2 separate regions of the Homo sapiens genome follow, and region 2 is linked to region 1. Evidence: promoter capture Hi-C in 16 types of primary human blood cells and fetal thymus (Javierre and others, 2016). All regions are on one chromosome and are shown on one strand. Each heading gives the region's core, a stretch centred on a gene start or on the middle of the fragment in contact. The rest is flanking DNA. Distances are from core to core; before and after follow the strand shown.

Evidence for each region. The method cuts DNA at HindIII sites, captures the fragments that hold promoters and counts their contacts. A CHiCAGO score of 5 or more calls a contact.
Region 2: a contact is called between a fragment that was not itself captured here and the fragment with the promoter of PEX5 in region 1, in 1 of 17 cell types (erythroblasts). The highest score is 6.6, in erythroblasts.

What each region holds. Positions count from the first base shown.
Region 1 is chr12:7,187,731-7,192,277 of GRCh38, forward strand. It overlaps PEX5 (peroxisomal biogenesis factor 5), which reads left to right and starts at 1,956. Exons shown (of 16, transcript NM_001351132.2): 1 at 1,956-2,020; 2 at 2,632-2,794; 3 at 3,158-3,193; 4 at 3,496-3,628; 5 at 3,839-3,970. The coding sequence starts at 2,648. RefSeq lists enhancers at 441-942, 943-1,442, 1,753-1,812, 1,813-2,529, 2,523-2,672 and 2 more and silencers at 853-902, 1,923-2,332. The HindIII fragment of the contact is 37,708 bases long and covers 1-4,547 here.
Region 2 is chr12:7,433,014-7,437,105 of GRCh38, forward strand. CD163L1 (CD163 molecule like 1) reads right to left here. Exons shown (of 20, transcript NM_174941.6): 3 at 361-681. Among named protein-coding and RNA genes, the nearest start is that of CD163L1, 9.1 kb to the right of the region's middle. The HindIII fragment of the contact is 2,053 bases long and covers 836-2,888 here.

The sequences.
Region 1 (4,547 bases), core at 706-3,205:
ACCTGGATTAACAAAATCTAGGGTTTCAAATCTAGAGCTTCAGTAAATTAAATATTAAACACCAAAGTCACTCTATTAGCCCTTTCCCAGCACCTCTGGCTGGGACTGTGGACCAAGTTCTGTGAATGATTCTATGGCCTAGGAGATCAAAGATCTCCATGGTTTATCAGTAAGTCTTCTCTAAGACTGGGAAGTAGGTGCCTAGAGTTATGCCTGGATTAAATTTTGACTTCCTAGCCATCTGATTTTGCACAAGTCTTATCTGTAAAGTGGGTCTACTAATATCTATTTAATAGGGGTATTAAGAAGATTAAAAACATTGAGATACATAAAGTGTTTTACACAACACCTGGATTTTAGTAAACATCAGTTATTATTATTAGCATTCTTCCAAGATCTGCACACAAAGTGAGTTACGGCTAATCAGTTGATAAACTCCTAGCAGAGCAGAAGGTTATGTGTGTTGTGATGTTTAAGTGGTACTGGGAAACTCTGGTTGCCTTGAGGTTCTGAAATTCTACTGTATCAGATGGGTTCCTTTAAACATTGCTCTCTCTAGGGGGTCCTCTTTTTAAAAGTATGCACCTTCTGGAGGGCATCTCTTCATCCTTGTGTGGTTTAGTTTATCAGGTATTTTCCTCACGATGGCAGCCTGAGAACAGGGGACGCCCAAGGGCTGGGATTTGTGTGCTCCGGAAGAAAACGGGGTGTAGAAGTGGGGCCTCTGAAAGAGGGCGAAAAGGCAAGGAAAAGGAGAAATGTTGCACAGTCTTATGGTCTGTCCCCTGCCATTCTGTTCCCCTGAGGTGTCAGAGCAGCTTCTCTGTCTTCCCAGGGATGAGTTTACACAGACATTCCCTGTGGCCCCCTGAGGCCTCCACCTCTGAAATCTGCAGAACAGCCAGGAAACAAGCCCGGCCCATGGCGCCACCTGCTGCCTGCCTGCCTCCGCTCATGCACCCTGGGCTGGGATGGTACTTCTGTTCGTCTGGCATTATTGCCCTTGGTCATTTACCGGCAGCCCTGGGCCCCTCCTTGCTCTTCTCCATGACACTAGGACTCCCTTGGTCTTGAAGCTGGGTGAGATTATCAGGGTTTGTTTCTCAATGACTTTGAGGTTTGACAGCAGAGCACACTCTTTGGCAGATGAGGGGGCTTGAGGCTTAGTCTTATTCCGTGATTAAAAGCATTTCTTGTATGTTTGTCCTTTCCCAGCCTGGAGTGATGGGAATAAGGCCACTATGTTGACTTAGCGGAAGGAAGGGCTGACTCACTGTTCACCTTCCCTGTACGTTACCAGCTCGAGGTCTCAGGATGCGTTGGACCCTATTTTGGTCTCCGGAATTTGTCATCATGCAGTGCTATTTTCCCCATTATGCAGAGGTGGAGAGGGATTAAGGCGGGGGCGGGCCCCTGTCTCCATGGAGACAGTGACGCTACCCCGCTAGGGGTTATTTGGAAGCGGGGCAGGCCTAGGAGGCTGAAGAAGGCTTCGGACTGGACTCCCCAGCCCCTGGTGTTAGGGCTTTTCTCTTTCTTGGGCTTGGGAACATTAGCCAGCCCCATTTTAGAGGGGAAAACTGAGGCTCAGAAAGGGCACTGAATCCCCTTAGGTCACAATGCGCCCAAGGGAAGAGGCAGGATCGACTGAGCCTAGGATCTCGCGTCTTCGGCTTTCCCCCAGAGCCTGGGAAGCCCTTCTTAGCTCCACTCTTCTTTGAGCTTTCCGTCAAACAAATCCTAGGGCCCGTGGCCTTTTCGAGCGCTCCTAAAGGCGACTCTCCAAGACCCGCTCTCTAAGGTGCTCTTCCCCTTTAAGACTCACGGCTCTTCCCGTCAGGCTGCGTCGCAGTCTTAAGGCCCCGCCTTTTCAGACAGCTTCCGCTGGGCCTGGGCCGCTGCGGGGCGGTCACGGCCCCTTTAAGCCTGAGCCCCGCCCCCTGGCTCCCCGCCCCCTCTTCTCCCCTCCCCCAAGCCAGCACCTGGTGCCCCGGCGGGTCGTGCGGCGCGGCGCTCCGCGGTGAGCGCCTGACCCCGAGGGGGCCCGGGGCCGCGTCCCTGGGCCCTCCCCACCCTTGCGGTGGCCTCGCGGGTCCCAGGGGCGGGGCTGGAGCGGCAGCAGGGCCGGGGAGATGGGCGGTGGGGAGCGCGGGAGGGACCGGGCCGAGCCGGGGGAAGGGCTCCGGTGACTTAAGGGGAGGGAATGCTCCTCTGCCGTGCTCACCGCGTGCTGGGGCTGCGCGGGGCTAGGTATGGTCGGGCTGTTTTCCCACTGTCCCTTCTTCGGGCAGTGTCGCCGTCCAGCCTGGTTGTTGAAGCGTCCCCGTGGTCCCCCGGGGTCCAGGCCCCTTTGTGGAGGCAGCTGCTGGCCCCCAGCCCATGGGACCGTAGTCGCGGAGGCCTCTGCAGAGGCGCAGGCTGGAAGCGGTGGCCTTTGAGGGGGGCGGCAGGAGAGAGTACCGACCTCCCTCGAACTCCTGGCAGAGGTGGGGGTCGCAGCAAAAGCACTGGGGTGGAGGGCGGCCAGTGTGGGGCAGACGCCTGTGTGCCTTCCTCAGATACGGGCAGAGTTGTGGATGTGAGAAGGGTCTGGCTTGGGTACCTCAGTTCCAAACCTCCTGTGTCCATCAGAGAGCTGGCGGTCACCATGGCAATGCGGGAGCTGGTGGAGGCCGAATGCGGGGGTGCCAACCCGCTCATGAAGCTCGCCGGGCACTTCACCCAGGACAAGGCCCTTCGGCAGGAGGGATTGAGGCCTGGCCCCTGGCCCCCCGGAGCCCCGGCCTCTGAGGCAGTGAGTGTTCTTGAGGTGGAAAGCCCAGGTGCAGCCTCTGAGGCAGTGAGTGTTCTTGAGGTGGAAAGCCCAGGTGCAGCCTCTGAGGCAGTGAGTGTTCTTGAGGTGGAAAGCCCAGGTGGTGGTGGTCTGAGGTGGAGGGGCTGTTTGCACATCTTGGTATAACTGCTTTCTCTATTGTGTTGCAAATCATAGTAGTTACCACTTACTGAGCGTTTATAAACACTAGAAAACCCTGTGCACCTTTAAATAAATGCAACCATTTTATAGATGAAGAAGCCGAGGCTCAGATGCCTATGGGCTTCATCAACCCCTGATTTTAGAGGAACTGCGTCATTGTACATCTCTGTCTTTCTCTCTTAGGCCTCCAAGCCTTTGGGAGTAGCTTCTGAAGATGAGGTAAATAGACCAGTCTCTTTTCTGTCCCATTTTTCTCTTGCCCACTGTGTTTTTACCTTTAAACTTAGTTCACCCGTATTTCAATTTTTGGGCTTTCCTGACCGAATGAGAATGCCTGCTTGTTTTTAAATGTATTTTTTCGTCCTTCTAAATCTATGGAAAGACAGTTTCTCTTTATGTGTCTCCAGTTTCTGTGTTTTCCTTTCCTTGTATCTAACATTGGGATCCCCCTCCAGTGGGTCCTGCCTCTTGCTGGGGCCTCCCAAGCCTATGGGTTCATTTCATCATTTCCCTTCTGGCAGTTGGTGGCTGAATTCCTGCAGGACCAGAATGCACCCCTTGTGTCCCGTGCCCCTCAGACCTTCAAGATGGATGACCTCCTGGCTGAGATGCAGCAGATTGAGCAGTCAAACTTCCGCCAGGCTCCCCAGAGAGGTGAGTCCAGAGTCTAGTGGGAGGGGAGATCGTTTTCCATGTAGCCAGGGCCAAGGAAGGGGGTTCCATTGGATGCTGCTGGCATTGGGGACCTGAGATGCAGAAGGAGACAAAAGTAACAGAGTGTTTTCACGTGGATTCAGGGTTCTTTAGGCATGATGGAATGGTATGTATGTATTCTTTCTTAGTTTTCTCTCTCTCTCTTTTAAGCCCCTGGTGTGGCAGACTTGGCCTTGTCTGAGAACTGGGCCCAGGAGTTTCTTGCAGCTGGAGATGCTGTGGATGTAACTCAGGATTATAATGAGACTGACTGGTCCCAAGAATTCATCTCTGAAGTTACAGGTGAAACTTGTTATGGGAAAATCTATATTGGCTTCTATGGGACAGAATTCTATACCCTTCCCCTGTTCACGTTATAGTGTGATTACGATTTTTCTGGTCTCATGACTCATTTCTAGAGGGGTAGGGTACTGAACTCAATTTCCCTTAGGTGATAACGGAATGTAATGTATATTAAAGAGAGGACTGGGTTTGTACTGGATAAGAGATTTTGGATAGAGAGAACGAAGAGTTTGGTTGGCCTTTTTACTTTATCACTGTGGTTTAGTGGAGAGGATCTACAGATTGGATGGATGGCAGTGTTGCCGAGGAAGAGAGTATTCACTACAGCACCTGGGATTCTGGCCTTAAGTTATTTGGAACAGAATTGGGGCCTTCAGAGTGTTATTGTGAAGTTCCAGTGCCTGAAGTGTATGGCTTTAGAAGGTAAAGACCATACCATGATGATGATAATAAAAATTAATAACAATAGTTACGTTCTAGGCCTTGTGTTACATGCTTTGAATGCATTATCTACTTACTCTCCATGAGAACCCTAGAGGTAGTTACTGTTTTTAGACCTAGTTTAAAGATAAGAAAA
Region 2 (4,092 bases), core at 612-3,111, 250 kb after region 1:
GTTAGTGTACCTGGTACATGAAAAAAGGCACTTAAATCAAAGCTAACCCTGCTCCCAAACTTCTTCATTTCTTTCTAAACTCAATTATAGTTATGATAAAGATATTACATTGGTAACTGTAATGCATTCTCTCTCTGTCTCTCTCTTTCTCTCTCCATTTCTTTCTAAACTCAGTTATAGTTATAAAAAGAAAAGCAATTAGACATTACTTTGGAAATAAGGGAAGGGTAGAATATATAAAATATTTCCTACACCTCCCAGAGGGACACTATTAAAGTCATAATAGAAACCCCTACCTTCCAGCAGATGATTCCTGAGGGTAGGTCTTACCTTGCCTTCCTACTCTAGTTAGACTCTTACCATAACAGTTCACACCAACATCTTCTCCATGATAACAGTTATGGCTTCCCCATTCCCGGTGTTGACATTCCCAGAGAGCTGACTCATTTCCATAACAGGAAACATCATCAAGCCAAATTTTTCCATGTCTAGTCACGGCTTGTCCAAAACGAAACATGGCGAAAGAAAATGGACATCCAAGCTGTTTGCACACGACAGTTGAGGCAGTAGTGTTCCACCCATCATCACACACAGTCCCCCACTGTCCCTGGAATTTCACCTCCACTGTCCCAGAGCAGGGACCGTCTCCATTGACCAGCCTCAACTCCAAATCTGTTCCATCTGCAAGAAAGACAGAAACATACATTAGAGATGGCAAAGATTAGAAGGCAGAAATAATATAAGTAGGTGAGATGGATGATGATCATTTAGTTTAAATGTTGTTATTAGAACTTATAGTAGAGAGAAAATAAAAATGAGAAAATTTGAAGTGAGAAGCTTTAATTTTTCATGATAGGGAACTAGAGACCACATTGCAGCATAGTTTTGCTTTGCATTGTAATGTGAAAATTAAAAGAAGGGAAAGAATTTTTTCTTTCTATGCAATTCCCACCAATATAAACCACAGAAAAGGTAAGGTTTGCTGTTGTGCACGCAGAATGAAAGAAAGTCCCTTGGCTAGTCAGTTTCAAAATAATCTGTATCTGAGGAGTCCACCTCACATTTTTGAAGGAGATGTTTTATATACTTAATAATTGAAAACATCTTGTAAGGTTGACATAATAATTTTCTACTCAATAAAATCTACAGCATTAAATACTTTTGAGTATTTATATCCTCAGATGTTTTAAATACATTCAACAATAGGCCTTGCAGGAGGAGAAGACCTAGTCGTCCATGATTGTAATATGCTAGTCCACCTTCTCTAATCAACAGCTATGTGAATCACAGGTAGACAACCACTTCAGAAAGGGCAGTCCTTCAGATGACCATTGGCTACTCATATTCCCATCTTAAAAATTTGAAATAAGTAAAATGGATTTTAAAAAATCCTAGGTGAAAAAATCAACTTAAAACAAGTGAAGTTAATATTAACCCAAATCTACTTGTAAGCCAAAATTTTGAGGAACAGACAATAAAAATTTAAATGGAAAACCAATGTGAAGGGAGAAAATTTTAAAGCAACCATGAGTTTTCAACGTGAAACTTTATGGTGAATTCTGTGCATATGATGATGATGAGAGGGTGTGTTAGTAAGAAGAGCAAGTGAGCCAAAGGGACAAAGAGAAGCAATAAGGAGGAAGAAAAAGATGAAAAAAGAGAAAGAAAAAGAAGGAGAGAGGAAGAGACAGAAAGAGAGAGAGACAGACAGAGACAGAGAGAGAAACAGGGAGAGAGAGTACAATAGAAAAGGCTTCCCAGTTCTGAGTTTCAGTACACAATGGCTTAGTGAGAATACACTTTTCACAAAAGATAACAATATTCTTTCTGAAAGTGGATTGTGAGTTAACCATAAGTCTTCATTCAGTGTGGTCTTGCCTATACTATACTCATAACTAGAAATTTTGGTTTCCTTATATTTCTCTTTCTCAGTTCCTAGTGCTGCTACTGTTTCCTATTTCTTTCTATATGAACATTTTTCTTTTTAGTTGAAATGTGTGTGAGGGGCATTCTAATGGCTGTGCTCATATCATATAACTCTTAAGTCTAATGAAAGCTCTTAAAAATGTAGTTGATACACACACACACAGAGATATATTCTAATATGATTGATATTTGCCATTTCTATTTTTTCAATATACTGATTAAGGTGTTTTTTTCAACGTGTACATTAGAATTTCTACTAATTTTTAGACATACCAAATTTCTACCAAGGTGTGATAAAATTAAAGAAAACTTGATAAATTAAGAACTTCTATTCTTCAAAATACACTCTATAAAAAGTGAAAAGTCACAAATGTGAAGAATATATTAGCAACATATATTATGACTATGGACTAGTATCTAGATTATATTTTTTAAATATATATATTTAGAAAAATAAGCAAAATGGGCAAATGAGTTGAACAGATATTTCACAGAAGAAAACAAAAGGCATGACCATTAAATACATGGAGAAATGCCTAAACTTATTAGTCTTTAGGAAACTGAAAATTAAGATAAAAAGATATAGCTTTATACTCTCTTGATTGGCAAAAATTTAGAACTCTGAATATTTAAAATATGAGTGAGGATATGAGTCATATCCTCATACATATATTTGAAAATATATATACATTGCTAGCAGAATTCATCCTATCTGGTAAAGTTGAAAACATGCACATCCCAGAACCTGCTAATTCTACTCCTACCTATAGACCGTAGTAAACTCCCATGAATCTGCACCAGAGACATATTTATAGCAGAACATTTGACAATAGTAATGAAAAATCCAAATAACTATTGACAGGATAATAGACAAATTCACTGGGAATATTTATTTATACAAGATAATATATTTTACTTAACGAAAACTTAAATAATTATAGCCATTGCAACAGCAGAGATGAAGCTTAGAAATATAATATTGAAAGATAAAAGCAAGTCCCAGAACACTAAATGCAGTTTGATATGTTATAAAGCTTAAAATAAGCAAAACTAAACAATACATTATTTCTGCATCTATATCTATCATATTATTAGAAAGTATTGTATTATTAAAAAGTAAGGTAGTGAGAAATGCACAATTCAGGATAGACATTATCTCTGGTGGGGTTGGAAGGTAGGTGGAAGAGAAGAGGAAAACATACGTAGAAAAAAATGGTTGATAAAAATCCAGTTTCCTGGTTGAGGGATGGATTTATGTGTGCCATTACATTATGCTTAATGATTTGTATATATGTTATAAAATGGCCATTTTTGTCTAATCAAATATAACATTAAACAGCGAGAAATTTAAAGCATTTTAAAAAGCAAATACATTAATCAAAAATATTTGTAACTGGACAAGAACCAATACTATTTTGGAGTACACAAAGATATAGTAATATTATCTATGATTAAACAGAAATAAGAAAATTGCACAAATAAAGCATTCAATTAAAATAATCATTTCAATACCATGATTAAATCTCAACAGCATTTAAAATGTTAATTTAGCCCAGATGCCATGGCTCATGTCTGTAATTTCAACACTTTGAAAGGCAGAGGTGGGAGGACTGCTTGAGGCCAGGAGTTCCAGATCGGCCTGGACAACATAGTGAGACCCTACCTGTAAAAAATTTTTTTTAATTAGCTGGGTATAGTGGCACACATCTGTAGCTGCACTCCAACCTGGCTGACAGAGTGAAACTCCGTCTCTTTAAAAAAAAGAATCCACTTTAATAACAATAAAATTTTATTTAAACTACAAATTTGGCACTAATGAAAAATATAGAAAATAATGAAAAACCTTAAAAATGACAATTTCTGTGTCAGATCTATGAAATGTAATATATTTGAAAAATTACTGAAATACAAAGCAATTAAATAACTTCAATAATCACTCATAAGGTCTTATTAAAATCTATTTGGGTATATCCAAATGACAGAAAACTACACAGCCAATAAAACAAGGTATCATAAGTGATATGTGATAAAATAAAAATGTTAAAGAACTATATAGGTAATAACCAATATATAAAATATAATGAAATAATTTTCTTGAAACATTATTATAAAAAATGCCACAAATTGGTATTTTAAACAATAGTGTTTTTCTCTGGATGTTAATAT